Linked DNA regions of Homo sapiens: all the other regions are linked to region 4. The links are contacts of gene promoters, found by promoter capture Hi-C in blood cells and fetal thymus (Javierre and others, 2016). All regions are on one chromosome and are shown on one strand. The core of a region is centred on a gene start or on the middle of the fragment in contact, and the rest is flanking DNA. Distances in the headings are between cores, read along the strand shown.

Region 1 (2,700 bases), core at 177-2,676, 170 kb before region 4:
GGCCATAGGGTCTCTTTGGGCTGAGAAATCTGGGGACCAGTAGCTGTGGCTAGTCGACAGCACCCCTGGGAGCAGTAACTATAAAGTGTGCTTCTGCTTCATGAAGGAAACCCTGAGGAACCTGCCCTGAGCACCCTCTGTCCACCCTGTGCCCTTGAGGGGATTTTCCTCGATTTCCCAATCTAGTGCTGTGCCTGAGTGTACTGTAAACTTGAGCCGTGCAATAGGACACATATCCACTAGCTAGTTCCAACTGAAATGAGCTGTAAGTGTAAAATACACACAGGATTATGAAGATTTAAAATTTCAAAATGTTGACTATCTCATTGGTAATATGGTATATTAACTAAGTATTTAAATATTCGTATTTGATTATTTGGGGCGAAACAAAATATAGTATACAAATTTATTTCATGTTTCTTTTTACTTTTTAAAATAAAAAGTAAAATTTAATTTTTTTTGAAAATTTGCAATTGTACATGCACTCGGCCTTTGTGCCTCACTGTATTCCTTTTGGACAGTGCTGGTATAAATTCAATGAACATGTTCAGAATGAAAGGGTAAGTCAACAACTCCACAGTCCTTCTTTCTTTCCCTTTGCAGACTACAGGGTTGATGTTCCTTTCTGATAGGTGACAGCAGCAAGTGGCACACATCCCTACCTGAGACCAGTGCACACAGGCTGAGGAGGAGGAGGAGGAGGGAGGCTGGCCGGGAGAAGTGCAGGGCAGCAGCTGATTCCATGAGCACCCAGAGCAGGCAGGGACAGGAGGCCTAGGGTTACAGAGGAGAATCAGCCTAGGAGTCTTGGCACCTCAGTGCTGGTCGGGCCCAACCTCTCCCGTCACTCAAGTAGGTCTCATCAGTGCCCCAACTTCAGGGAGTCCCCTGCATCCGAAGGCTCAGGTATGTCCCGAGAGAGGGATTCCTTAAACATTCCATGAAGTAAGCCATCAATGCCAAGATCAAGGGGGCCTTTTTCCGCCCTCCTCGGCTCACTTCTCTGGCCAGAATGCAGTTTCTTCAGTTGTCGCTGGATTCTACCACACCCTCCTCCCTTCACTTCCTCCTCCCCGCGACCCAGGCCGGGCAGCCTGAGGCAAAGACAGGCGAGGCCGCGCCTCCCCACCGGTGGGCTTTCCCTGTCCCAGGACCCCGTCTCGTGTCCACAGCAGACCCCGCTTCCCCCACCTACTGTGCCCACCCCGGAGCTGTAGCGCCTCCCCTCCGTTTCCTACCTTCTAGAATTAAACGTTGCTTTTTCTTTTCTCCGCTGGTTCTCGACGATTCTCCAGTCGTCCCTCTTCTCTCCAATCTGCCCAGGGGCACAGGCACTACTAGACACAAACCTTCCCAAAAGAGGAGAAAAAATTGTTCTTCCCCTTCTCCTAGGTCGCCATGTTTGGAGATGCAGGAAACGAAATCTGGTCTCCTGGGCTTCCACAGTCCCAAGAGTTCCCTAAGTATTTTAGAGCCCAGGATTGGCCGGGTGTGAGTGAACCAGCCAATGGTGTCGAACCTTATTTCTCAGCAGTTGCTGGGTAGAATACACCGAATCACAAATTTCAAGCAGCAAATAACCTTTTGAGATTATCGGGTCTTTTTATTTCCTTTTTCTTTGTTCGAAAGCAAGACTCTCTCTCTCTCTCTTTCTCTCTCAAGACTCTCTCTCTCTCTCTCGCTTTGAGATTCCTTGGGGAGATTCCCTGGGGTTTGTCACTGAGGTCGGTGGCTTTGCTGGTGTCCACAAGGAGAGGCCTCTCTATGTAGAGGGCAATTTTGCTGGGGAGGAAACATGAGCAGGAAAACGTAAGCCGCCCCCTTTCCAAAGCCAGAGGACTCCTGTTCAAGTTGCTGGCTTTGGAGGTTGGGCCTGGAGCGCAGGAGGGCTTGGGGGAAGCTGGCATGGCTGGAGCGGGAGGGGTAGCAAAGGAAAGGAGACAGCAGTTGCAGTGGCTGTTATGAAGGCCTTGCCATTCATTCCAAAGCTATCGGATAAGAGGTGCTGAGAATCCTGACTGAGGATCAAAAACCTTTTCCCTCAGGGAGGTGGCATTCTGGTGGTGGCAGAAGATGGAATTGAGCAAAACTTTCTAGTTGTCCTTCACCTTCTAGATAGTAGGTGGTCAGGTTGGGTCCAAGAGCCACACACAGACACACACACTAGCACACATACCATCCTCCCGTAAACATCATCCCTCTCCCAAAGGCTCCAATCTTGTAATTGTAAAGATATCTTCCAGAATAATCTTCCCGAGGCCCAGTTGTCAATATTCCCCTCAAGTGTCTAAATGCTTAGTCTGGAGGCCTCCAATTCCCTTCTGATTCAATTCAAAACTTTGCAGTTAATACGCTAGCAATGGCTCCACAGTGGCCTTGCATCACAACGTTGCACTCCCTGTGGCCAGTGCTCCTTTTCCCATGCCATGGCTTTCATTTCAATTGCTTGCTCCATCTCTGCCCCGTGAAATCCTGCCCAGCCTTCGTGCCTACTTCCTCCAAGAACAACTCTGAATGTTCCTGCCTGAAGTGTTCTCGGCCTCTTCTGACACCCAAATCTTTTGCTGTTCCCACGTCCTGTCTTGTATTATTGTTACTCAGGTATCCACTGTGTCTCTGCTGTGACAGGAGTACCTGCTTCTCAGGACAGACTTCTGCAGGATGTGATTCCTCTCACCTTACAGGGCCCAGCTCTAAGCT
Region 2 (2,700 bases), core at 188-2,687, 190 kb after region 4:
ATGGCTCCTCCTGTGGAGACAAGAGACCCAGGAAAGAGGCATCACAAACCTAGGCACCATCTTGCCTCTTCTCTCTTCCTTATTTTCCTCATTCACCCATCTCAATTTAGACCTGGGCACTATTGGATTTCAAGAACCATTATCTCTCATCTGGAAATGCTTATTGGCTTTCTAACTGGTCTCCTCACCTCTCATCTAACTTCTTAACAACACATTCACCATATAAGGGAGATCGTGGTCCTCCTTTCTTAGGATCCTTCAATGACACCCCAGTGATCATAACCCAATATCCCAAAAGACCCTTGGACTCTGTATGAGCTGGCTTCTTTCTGATTCTCTTTTCCCTACACCACAGATGTTCAGGGGGTAGAAATGCATAATTGGTGAGTGATAGCTACGCAAACTCAGGGTTAAGGTACAGTAATTATTTCTAATCTCCCAGTATGCCTTATACTCTCCTACTTGGCATGGTTGCTCCGTCTGTGTAGACCTCCCATCATCTTCAACCTCACCTAATGGAATCCAGCTTCTCCTTCAAGATCCAGAAGGCTATCTTGATCCCCAGCTGAATGTGATCATTCTTTCCTTTGACACCCTAAGCATTTGCTTCCTGCCTGCTTTAGGACCTCATGGGGTCTTCTTTAACTACATTTACTTGCTATCAATTTCATTCCCTACCAGATTTGGGTTCTGAGAATAGCCACAGTGACTTCTCAACCTCAAAGCCCCTGTACTACCTTAAACAGCTCTTGCAAAATAGTAGGTGCTCTGAAGATGTTTGTTGAATTAGAGACTTTCATTCTGGGGAGAACCATTATTTTCTGTCTCCCAGGGAGCTGCTGGTGTCCCCAAAGAATATAAATGAGAAAAATGCTTCCCATGGATGCCAGATCCCCTCTGCCCCTCTTCCCACTGTGCCCTGGGGCAGAGGTACTAAGAGACTTCCCCCTTGTTCCTACTCACTTGAACCCTGCCTCTTCCTTAATATTATGAACAAAATTCCAATGAACAAGATGACGACAAAAACAGCAATTCCACTGATGACTCCAATGACTAGGGTGCCAGACGGTGAGGGCTCTAAAACAGAAAAAGCAAGTTAAAGCCTTTGATTGCCACCCTCAGCCCACCCCCTAACAAAGAGCAGATCCTCATCTCACTGCCATAATTACCTCCTCAGGCACTCCTCTCAACCCCCAATAGATTTTCTCAGCTCCTGGCTCTCATCAGTCACATACCCCAGATCACAATGAGGGGCTGATCCAGGCCTGGGTGCTCCACCTGGCACGTATATCTCTGCTCTTCCCCAGGGGGTACAGCCAAGGTTATCCAGCCCTGGTAGGTCCCATCCCCATTGGGCAATACGTCTTTAGGTTCGAACTCCTTGGCATCCATTGGCTGCTTATCCTTCAGCCACTTCATGGTGATGTTCTGGGGGTAGTAGTTCAAGGCCCGACACCGTAGAGTGGTCACTGAAGAGGTCACATGATGTGTCACCTTCACCAAAGGAGGCACTTGACAGGAAAGAGGAAGGATGAGGAGAGGGGATCTGTTTACCCTTGCCAGGAAGACTGGAACTTTCACTTCCTTCTATAGGTTGGAGGAAGGAAATACCCTTTTCAGAAAAAAACAAGCTACAGGAGAGACACCATTTTGTGTCCTAAGATTGGACTCTAACACAGTGTCACTTGGAGAGCAGTCAGATCAGCTTGTTCTCCTCACATGTAAATATACATATCTGTTACCCATGTTCTTTGTTCTGATAGATAAAATTGCCCTTTATGTGCATTGAAAATGATTGAATACAGATGGTCAGTTTCACCTGGGTCAACCTAGGAGGCATTGTTATAAGAAGCGGACTTGTAAGATAGGTAGCTTCAGTGATTATTGCTATGTTCTATGAAAGAAACTTTTAACCTAAAGGATTCTTCTACTCTGATAAGTGGCCTCACTTGATATTTTGTCCTGGTATTCATATGATAGCTGAGATCTCTGAATTCTCTTTTTTTTTTTTTTTTTTTTTTTAAGATGGAGTCTCACTCTGCTGCCTAGGCTGGAGTGCAGTGGCGCGATCTTGGCTCAGTGCAACTTCCGCTTCCCAGGTTCAAGCGATGCTCCTGCCTCAGCCTTCCAATTAGCTGGGACTACAGGTGCGCATGACTGTGACCAGCTAATTTTTGTATTTTTTTAGAGACGGGTTTCACCATGTTGGTCAGGCTGGTCTCAAACTCCTGACCTTGTGACCACCCGCCTCGGCCTCCCAAAGTGCTGGGATTACAGGGGTGAGCCACCGTGCCCGGCCTTGACATTTCTGAATTTTTAACAGGTATAAATATACAAAAGATTATTGGTTAAATAAAAAGCAAGGGCCATAGACACTTCCCTTTGAGCCATATGCATGGAGAAAAGAAATTAAACCCATGACTTGTGGCTGTCTCATACATCTCAATTATAAGGTAGAGACTCTAGGATTGAGAAAGTCCCTTCCCAGAATTTGGAGAGGCACACAGCCTCAGCCACCTCTGAAACTCCAACCAGGGATTCCGTGCCCTGCAACCTCCTCCACTCTGCCACTAGAGTATAGGGGCAGAAGTGTGTTTCCACCATACCTTGTTGGTCCAAAACACCTCTCCCCAGCTCCAGCAACTGCTGCAGCTGTGCAGGGCAGTCCCTCTCCAGGTAGGCCCTGTTCTGCCTGGCCCG
Region 3 (2,700 bases), core at 44-2,543, 220 kb after region 4:
AAGTGAATGCATCAACCCACATGAATTTCTTGTCTATTTGACAATTTATTCTCTTTAGGAATAGTATTAACTCCTAAGGTCCTGGGAGCCAGTCTCTGTACTTGGCTGCTCCAGGGTCCTACTTCAGTTTCCCAGCTTCTCAGTACTGTCACTGTCAATTGTGGGTAATAATTATTTTTGTCCACCAAAAGACTCTGTATGTGAATGAGTTTTGAAATCTGCTGAGTAATACAGTGTCAACCCAGTTAATGATTTGCCGGGCGGCTTGATCAGGGGCTGTCCAACTACCGGCATTTTGATTTGGAGCGTCATCTAGTGTCTGAAAGCACAAACAACATCCTACATTGTAAATGCCTTTGGCTACAGAGATTGAAACCAAAGCAAACCTATGTTTTGAATTGTTATTCTTCAGCAGTTCTGCTAGCTTTGAAAAATCTAAAAGTTAAAAAAAAGCTTTATATTTCATTTTCTGCCTAAACTCTTTAAAATTGCTAGTTGACAATTAGATATTTTCAATTTAATGAAATTTTTTTTTAGTTCACAGATTAATACACAATGGGGGAGGGTTCTTATTCTGTTGGACTTTTACATAACCTCCACTTTAGTGCAGTCTGCTTTATGGGGTCTTGTTTGAGGTGTGTGTGTGTTTAAGGGAATGTGGTTTACAATCAAAATATTGGGTTGCTCTTAGGCACATTGTAAAGTCACACACCTGTATTCTTATTGATACATAATGATTAATAACATTATTATTACAGCCTGATCACCATCATTATTGATATATCTAAATAATGAATTTTATAATTTTGCTTCCTGTCAGGCAAGAGCCAATTTCAGTGCTACCATGTTTGTATAGCAGTATTTATGTCTGTCATCCTCAGTCATTTTACTTCACTTGTTCTTAGCCAAACGGCCGAGAAGCGATGGTCATTTTACTTCAAAAATGAAAAGAATTAATATTTTTACGTTTCCCTTAAAGACCCTATGTTTAACCTCCACTCCTGGGTAAAATGGTCTAGTCCCTCCTTTTCATATCATCTCTGATATCTTTTGCACAGCCACTATTACCTACCGTTTTCTAGATCCCTATTCTTCAAACACCACCATGAAGGTAGAGCCTGTCTGAATTATTTTCTTGTCCCCTGAACTCAGTACATTGTTAGGCTTCTTGAAGATGTTGATCAGTTGTTTGTGGAGTGAATGAATCAGCTAGCATGATTTTTCTAGACCACTGAGACAAGTGTCTAAGACACTTGTTCCTTCCCATGTTCTTGCCTGCCTGTGCAATCCATGCAGTCTCATGGCTTCCCAGTGCCTCAGAATTATCCCCTGTCAAACAGGCATTATAATTTCTGTCCACTGAAAAGGACAAAAAACTAAGTGTATAGCTAGAAGTTAAAAATTACCGGCCAGGTACTGTGGCTCACTCCTGTTATTCCAACATTTTGGGAGGCTGAGGCGGGCAGATCACCTGAGGTCAGGAATTCGATACCAGGCTGGCTAACATGGCGACCCCGTCTCTATCAAAAATGTAAAAGTTAGCCAGGTGTGGTGGCTCGCACCTGTGGCCCCAGCTACTCAGGAGGCTGAGGCAGGAGGATCGTTTGAGCCCTGGAGGTTGAGGCTGCAGAAAAATAGGAATATACTCTCTTTCAAGAGTTCGTGGTTTTGACTGCCACCTAGCGTACATCAGAAAAACCGCATGACATAGGAAATGCCTGTGACAGAGGGGTAAGGTGAGAGAGGTTGATGAAGAATGTATTGAAGGAGTGAAAACGCTTCCATCCCTCTACTTACTAAATATATTAGTTAAGTAGTTGGGGCATATTTTAATTCATGCATTTTGTAGATAGAAAAACAAAAGTTTTATTCTGTTTGATTTAGTTGATACTTTAATATGTGTGTGTTTAGGATGCATGATTTATAATCAGTCTGCAGCACTTCTTGGAGAAGTCTGAATTCTCATTCTCCATTTCCTTATTGGCAACGTGAGAATGATTACAATGGTGGTTGTCTCATAGAATGCAGGGAGTCAGAATGAAAATAGTCCATATAATGCCTGGTGCAGAGGAAGGGTTCAGTTAACTGTCTGTATTAATATTACTGATAACAGTCATGACAAACAAAAGCTTAACAACAACACCACCAACAACAGTTGCAGAATTGAGCCACCAATTTGCACACAAGATTGTAGGTAGGATGTTTTAGAAAAGTTATTATTTAATATATGTATATATTTTTGTACTTAAAATATGTCAGAGGTTGTTCTAAGAACTATTTAAATGTTAACTCCTTAATCCTCATAATGACCCATGAAACAGGTAGGCTTATTATTGTCTCTTTACATGTGAGAACACTGAGACACGAAAAGGTTTATTAACTCACCCAAAGTCACACAGCTGGTAAAACGGCAAAATTGAATTTGAACTCAGACATTCCAGGTTCCAAGACAGTCTAATTATTCTTTTGACTAATATACTAAGCTGCCTCTGTATTTTTCCTTGATTACTTTGTAAAAGTATGAGGAAAATATAAGTGCTTCAAGTAACCATGAAAAATATAAACAATCTATGTATCAACTGAAGCATAATTACAAATCCTTTGATAAGCAAACATAATAAAAATTTGATATCAATCAAAACTTTCATGTAATGTAAGCAGGTTGAGATGAATTCTATAGTAAAAAAGTGCAGAGTGCTG
Region 4 (2,739 bases), core at 127-2,626:
CTCCTTGCTTGGCAGGTTAACTTACAACTGTCATAACTGGCTGCAACAGTGGTATAGCCTCTAAACAAGAGAAATTTGCTTTGTTTACAGATGACATATTGATTAATGACACTTGGGTGTCCATGAAAATCAAAATTGTACATGCAGAGATTGTAGTTTCACATTATTTCCCGGAAATGCTTGTAATTCTGGAATTAAAGAAATACTCGGGTTCATTTTGTTTTCTTTCGTCATTGTTTAACCTAAAAAACTGTAACTTAAAAAAAAGGGATCCTCAGGAAAATAGACGGGGGGGGAGAAAAAAAAAGGACCTAGCAGAGGATGGTTTCGATCCATCGACCTCTGGGTTATGGGCCCAGCACGCTTCCGCTGCGCCACTCTGCTGTTCTGCCAGGCACACGGTCTCACAGTACTCTTAACTACTTACAGGAGATGCGTTCAGACTACCTCGTAATTTAAGAAAAAACCTACGAGCAGTTGCCTACTTCTTTGGCTACCACAGGTTGCCAACTCACTTTGGAAAAAGGAATCACCAGAATCAAACAGAAAACAAAACTAGGGATAGAAAAATAAATATCAATACACTGGTGGGCTAGGCGCGGTAGCTCACGCCTGTAGTCACTGCACTTTGGAAGACCCAGGCAGGCAACATAGCGAGACCCTGTCTCAATAAAATTAAAAAAAGGAAAAAAAAAAACCCCCACCCCGAAACCTACACACTGGGTGCAGTTGTGAGGGGCAGTTAGATATTTAAATGGCAATTACAAATTTTAATAAGCAGGGAAAGAAGAGAACAAACTGGGAATAGAATCAGGCCTCCGCGCGGAGGGCAATAATTCTACCACGAATCACTAACCTATCATGCCTTCGCCATCGGGAAGAAAACCCTTTTGGTTATGTTTCCCTTGGCTTGGTGATGGAGAGGGTGAAATCTTGCAGTTTTCAAACACTTCCGAAGGGGGGTTTCGGTCCGCATGTGCTTTACAGCCGGCAGCAGAAAGCCAGTCACTGTGACCTTGGGGACAAAGCTGCACTCCTCAGGCTTCCGGTCTTGTGGACCGAGGCTCCTCTCCAATCGTCCTAAAGCAACTGAAGGAACAATTGATAACAATTTAAACATGTTAATTTATTTAATCTGATTTGGTTGTTAAAACAGCCTTAAAACTCTCATTCCTATTTCCCAGCAATTGCAAGAGACGCCTCCGCGGAGCCGGCGCTCAGATGCCAAAGGCTGGAGTCGTTGGTGACGTCATCCAGGGCTGGGCTATGCGGGGTGGGGCCAAGAAGCAGGACCAAAGTTCCGGTATGCGCGCTTTCAGTCTTCAATTAGGTCCGAATTCCCGGCATATAAGGGCGTTGCTTTGCCTTGGCGTTTAGGTTTCTTAAGTTGGTTTTAGAAGTTGCTTAGTCATGTCTGGCCGTGGTAAAGGTGGAAAAGGTTTGGGTAAGGGAGGAGCTAAGCGTCATCGCAAGGTTTTGCGCGATAACATCCAGGGCATCACTAAGCCAGCTATCCGGCGCCTTGCTCGTCGCGGCGGTGTCAAGCGAATTTCTGGCCTTATCTATGAGGAGACTCGTGGTGTTCTGAAGGTGTTCCTGGAGAACGTGATTCGTGACGCTGTCACTTACACAGAGCACGCCAAACGCAAGACCGTGACAGCAATGGATGTGGTCTACGCGCTGAAGCGACAGGGACGCACTCTTTACGGCTTCGGTGGCTAAGGCTCCTGCTTGCTGCACTCTTATTTTCATTTTCAACCAAAGGCCCTTTTCAGGGCCGCCCACTTTTTTCATAAAAGAGCAGACATCTTGTTATCCTGCTTTGTTCCAGATTTTTGCTGAGAAGTAGTTACTGTGCACATGTGTAGATTTGCAGGTAACGTTTAATTACTCGTGCTTAATCTCGCATGTTTAGGATTTGGGCATAAAGTACTTAAAGCCACTGTTTTCTGCTTGAGGGAAGTTGGTATGTTGAATATGTTTAGCTTTCTTGTGGCATTTTAACACTAGATATCAGTGAGTAAGCTGGATTGTGACAGTTTATAATTCCCGTGGGCCTTCCTCCTTCAGTTTAAGCTTGAAGCGTTCGTAAGGTTCTCAAAGACTACAGAAGTTGGAAACTTCGCGGAGAGACTGCAAGTTACCCTTTCCAAAATGGCGGGAAGGGCTAAAAACAAAGAAAGCTCGCACCCAGACGGCGGGCCTTAAACCAAGGCGAATCCGTGAGCGCAACACATCTGCGTGAGTAGGATCGCAGACCCAAGTCCAGGCGGCGTGCGCGCTGCTGCTTTTGACTTGGTGACAAAACTCGTCTACAAAAGGCAGTGTGGGGTAACAATATAAATGTTCACTTGAGAGCTTGCAAGTATTGTTTCCAATAGACTTAAAATGTGTTTTTGAATATTACGAAAATATTAAAAGGTAGGGTACCGCTTAGTGAGCAATATAGAAACATCACCATAACTTATTTTGTTGTTGTTGAGACGGAGTTTTGCTCTTTCATCCAGGCTGGAGTGCAGTGGCGCGATTTCGGCTCACCGCAACCTCCGCCTTACAGTTTCAAGCGATTCTCCTGCCTCAGCCTCCTGAATAGCTGGTATTACAGCCGCCCGCCTAATTTTTGTGTTTTTAGTAGAGATGGGGTTTCACCATGTTGGCCAGGCTGGTCTCGAACTCCTGATCTCGTGATCCACCCGCCTCGACCTCCCAAAAGTGTTGGGATTACAGGCATGAGGCACT
Region 5 (2,700 bases), core at 28-2,527, 230 kb before region 4:
ATTTTCCTCTTTCTGGCTGATACCATCCATTCTTCAACTTGAGAGTCCTCTTCTCTGTGGCCCACACTAGAATGCAATGCAGGCTCACAGCTTCTCCACTGCCTACTTGCCCCTAAAAGAAATAGAATGCTTTGGAGGATTTTAATATTGCAGAAATAGATGCTGGATTTAAGCAAGTAAGTGCAGGGAGGATTATAATGTATTCTGAAAGTATTAGAGTGGTATTTACTTTCATAATACATCATAATGTATTATAAATAGATCGAGCAATTTCTTTTAGCTCCTTTTTTTAGTCTTCTCTTTCCTCTTCTCGGAATCCCAGTTTCGTTCAAACATCCCTTTTAAATCCGGGGACTGATGCTACTAAGCCTCCTCCTTCCTTCAATAGACTTTACTCTTGATTTTATCCAACCTATCCTGCAAATACATGTTTACTGATTTATTATAAAGGATATTACAAAGTATACAGATGAAAAGACAGATGGAAAATATGTACAGGGCAAGATGTGTGGGAAGGGGCATGCAGCTCCGAAGCTTTCTCTGTGCACACACTGCCCTCCAGAAACCTCCGTGTGTTCAGCTATCCAAAAGGCCAGAGTGCCAATGGCTACCTACCCTCTGCCCCTGTTTGGGTGGTGAACTTCATTTCTACTACTGTAAAGGTAACCTGGTCAATGGTATAGGTAAGTGAAGCCAACTCTTTAACAGTACTTTTGCAAGAGGAGGAAATATTTGGGAAATCTTTAATGTTAAGGCCTTGTAATTAAAAGAAAAAAAATGGGGTGGGTGATCTTTGGATATTATTTGATATAGTTTGGATCTGAGTCCCCACCCAAATCCCATGTTCAATTGTAATCCCTAATGTTGGAGGTGCAGCCTGTTGGGAGGTAATTAGATCATGGGGGCGGTTTCTCATGAGTGGTTTAGCACCATCCCCTCAGTGCTATTTTTTTGGGAGACAGAGTCTCTCTCTGTCGCCTAGGCTGGAGTGAAGTGAGTGGCATGATCTCGGCTCACTGCAACCTCTGCCTCCCAGGTTCAACCGATTCTCCTGCCTCAGCCTCCCAAGTAGCTGGGACTACAGGCATGTGCCACCAAGCCCGGCTAATTTTTTTGGTATTTTTAGTAGAGACGGGGTTTCACCATGTTAGGCTGGTCTTGAACTCCTGACCTCAGGTGATCTGCCTGCCTCGGCCTTCTAAAGTGCTGGGATTACAGGCGTGAGCCACCATGCCCGGCCAATGCTATTTTTGTGATAGTGAATGAGTGACTAATTATGACATCTGATTGTTTAAGAGTGTGTAGCACATCCCCCGCTCCCCCCTCTCTCCTCCCCCGTCCCTGCTGCTGTCTTCCTTCTGCCATGGCCATGTAAGATGTGCCTGCTTCCCCTTCGCCTTCTGCCATGATTGTAAATTTTCTGAGGCCTCCCCAGAAGCTGAGCAGAAGCTGTCATGCCTACATAACTATGAGCCAATTAAACTTCTTATCTTTTTTTTTTTTTTTTTTTTAAATGGAGTCTTGCTCTGTCACCCAGGCTGGAGTGCAGTGGCGCGATCTCAGCTCACTGCAACCTCTGCCTCCCGGGTTCAAGTGATTCTCCTGCCTCAGCCTTCTGAGCAGCTGGGATTACGGGTGCCTGCCACCACACCCGGCTAATTTTTGTGTTTTTAGTAGAGACGGGGTTTCACCATGTTTGTCAGGCTGGTTTCAAACTCCTGACCTCGTGATCCACCCGCCTCGGCCTTCCAAAGTGCTGGGATTACAGGCATGAGCCACCGTGCCCGGCCTAAACTTCTTATCTTTATAAATTACCCAGTCTCAGGTATTTCTTTACAGAAATATGAGGATGGACTAATAAAAAATTGTTCCTGAGTTGAGATTCTGTATTCCTGCTTGAAGACCCTGGTAAGCAGTTGTTCCCTCATGAGGCATCAGCCCCCATGTGCACCTGCCCTGGTGAGCCCACTGCCATCAGGCCTAGGGATGGGTCTTAGACCACATACAATGGCAAAGCTTTAGACAGCTGCATTCCCATGCAGGTTTCTTGCCCTATGTTTTATTTTGTTTCAGTTGATATTAAAAAAGAAAGGTTAAGAGGTTGCTTTCAGCAATCAGACAAACTTATTTATTAGGTAAAGACGATGAGCAACGTCTATCCTGGAAACTGGAGAATACGATGGAAATGGAAGGTATAAGCCTGGAGTCTATTGGCAAGACAAGCCACATGTGTAAAGGAAAGTGCTCAGGGGCAAATACACAGGTGCAATCAGTCCAGCTGCACTGAACACAATGATGCAGCATTCAGGGGACCCTGAGGAGAGGCAGCATGTAGGAAAGCTGGGTAGGGAAAGTGAAAGGTGCACAGTGTGGAAACGGAGGCAGTTGAAGCTAACTGAAGGTGTGTGTAAGGGGTTTGGGCATTGAGATGAGGGCTGAGGTGACATAAGGTTGAGATGGTGACTGAGCAAGTGGTGATATCACTGAAGGATGACTTCTAGGAATGTCTTTGAAATAGAGAGATGCTATAACAAAAAGAAGAGGACAACTGGAAACTTGTGGATCAACAAATTGAGGGTGGAATGACTTCCAGGCAAGGGAGAAACAGGAGGGCGCAGAGAAAGGAACAGGGTACAAAGAACAGCTGTGCAAACAACTTTTGAGTTTTGTCAAAAATTCTCTCCTCTATCACGCTTTCTG

The links. Contacts are between HindIII fragments. The CHiCAGO score rates a contact against its expected background, and 5 or more counts as called.
Region 1: a contact is called between the fragment with the promoter of BTN2A1 here and the fragment with the promoter of H4C8 in region 4, in 11 of 17 cell types (naive B cells, non-activated CD4 T cells, M0 macrophages and 8 more). The highest score is 8.0, in naive B cells.
Region 2: a contact is called between a fragment that was not itself captured here and the fragment with the promoter of H4C8 in region 4, in 1 of 17 cell types (monocytes). The highest score is 5.3, in monocytes.
Region 3: a contact is called between a fragment that was not itself captured here and the fragment with the promoter of H4C8 in region 4, in 2 of 17 cell types (monocytes and naive CD4 T cells). The highest score is 7.5, in monocytes.
Region 5: a contact is called between a fragment that was not itself captured here and the fragment with the promoter of H4C8 in region 4, in 1 of 17 cell types (M2 macrophages). The highest score is 5.7, in M2 macrophages.

The regions. Positions count from the first base shown.
Region 1 is chr6:26,456,681-26,459,380 of GRCh38, reverse strand. It overlaps BTN2A1 (butyrophilin subfamily 2 member A1), which reads right to left and starts at 1,426. Exons shown (of 8, transcript NM_007049.5): 1 at 1,239-1,426; 2 at 663-774. The coding sequence starts at 744. RefSeq lists enhancers at 1,236-1,395, 1,556-1,815. The HindIII fragment of the contact is 11,033 bases long and covers 1-2,700 here.
Region 2 is chr6:26,091,496-26,094,195 of GRCh38, reverse strand. HFE (homeostatic iron regulator) reads right to left here. Exons shown (of 6, transcript NM_000410.4): 3 at 2,607-2,700; 4 at 1,236-1,511; 5 at 964-1,077; 6 at 1-10. Among named protein-coding and RNA genes, the nearest start is that of HFE, 5.4 kb to the right of the region's middle. The HindIII fragment of the contact is 3,702 bases long and covers 1-2,700 here.
Region 3 is chr6:26,063,696-26,066,395 of GRCh38, reverse strand. No RefSeq gene overlaps it. Among named protein-coding and RNA genes, the nearest start is that of H1-2, 8.6 kb to the right of the region's middle. RefSeq lists a silencer at 1,630-1,769. The HindIII fragment of the contact is 1,676 bases long and covers 456-2,131 here.
Region 4 is chr6:26,284,171-26,286,909 of GRCh38, reverse strand. It overlaps H4C8 (H4 clustered histone 8), which reads left to right and starts at 1,376. Exons shown (of 1, transcript NM_003543.4): 1 at 1,376-1,784. The coding sequence starts at 1,411. The coding sequence ends at 1,722. TRX-CAT1-2 (tRNA-iMet (anticodon CAT) 1-2) reads right to left here and starts at 384; the gene lies at 313-384. LOC124901287 (a long non-coding RNA gene) reads right to left here and starts at 1,230. Exons shown (of 2, transcript XR_007059520.1): 1 at 857-1,230. RefSeq lists a silencer at 596-645 and enhancers at 986-1,375, 1,526-1,685, 1,064-1,799, 892-2,091, 1,800-2,535. The HindIII fragment of the contact is 3,784 bases long and covers 1-2,078 here.
Region 5 is chr6:26,509,831-26,512,530 of GRCh38, reverse strand. BTN1A1 (butyrophilin subfamily 1 member A1) reads right to left here. Exons shown (of 8, transcript NM_001732.3): 8 at 2,106-2,700. All of the region lies in intron 1 of LOC107986583 (a long non-coding RNA gene), which reads left to right. Among named protein-coding and RNA genes, the nearest start is that of TRL-CAG1-7, 10 kb to the left of the region's middle. The HindIII fragment of the contact is 1,482 bases long and covers 537-2,018 here.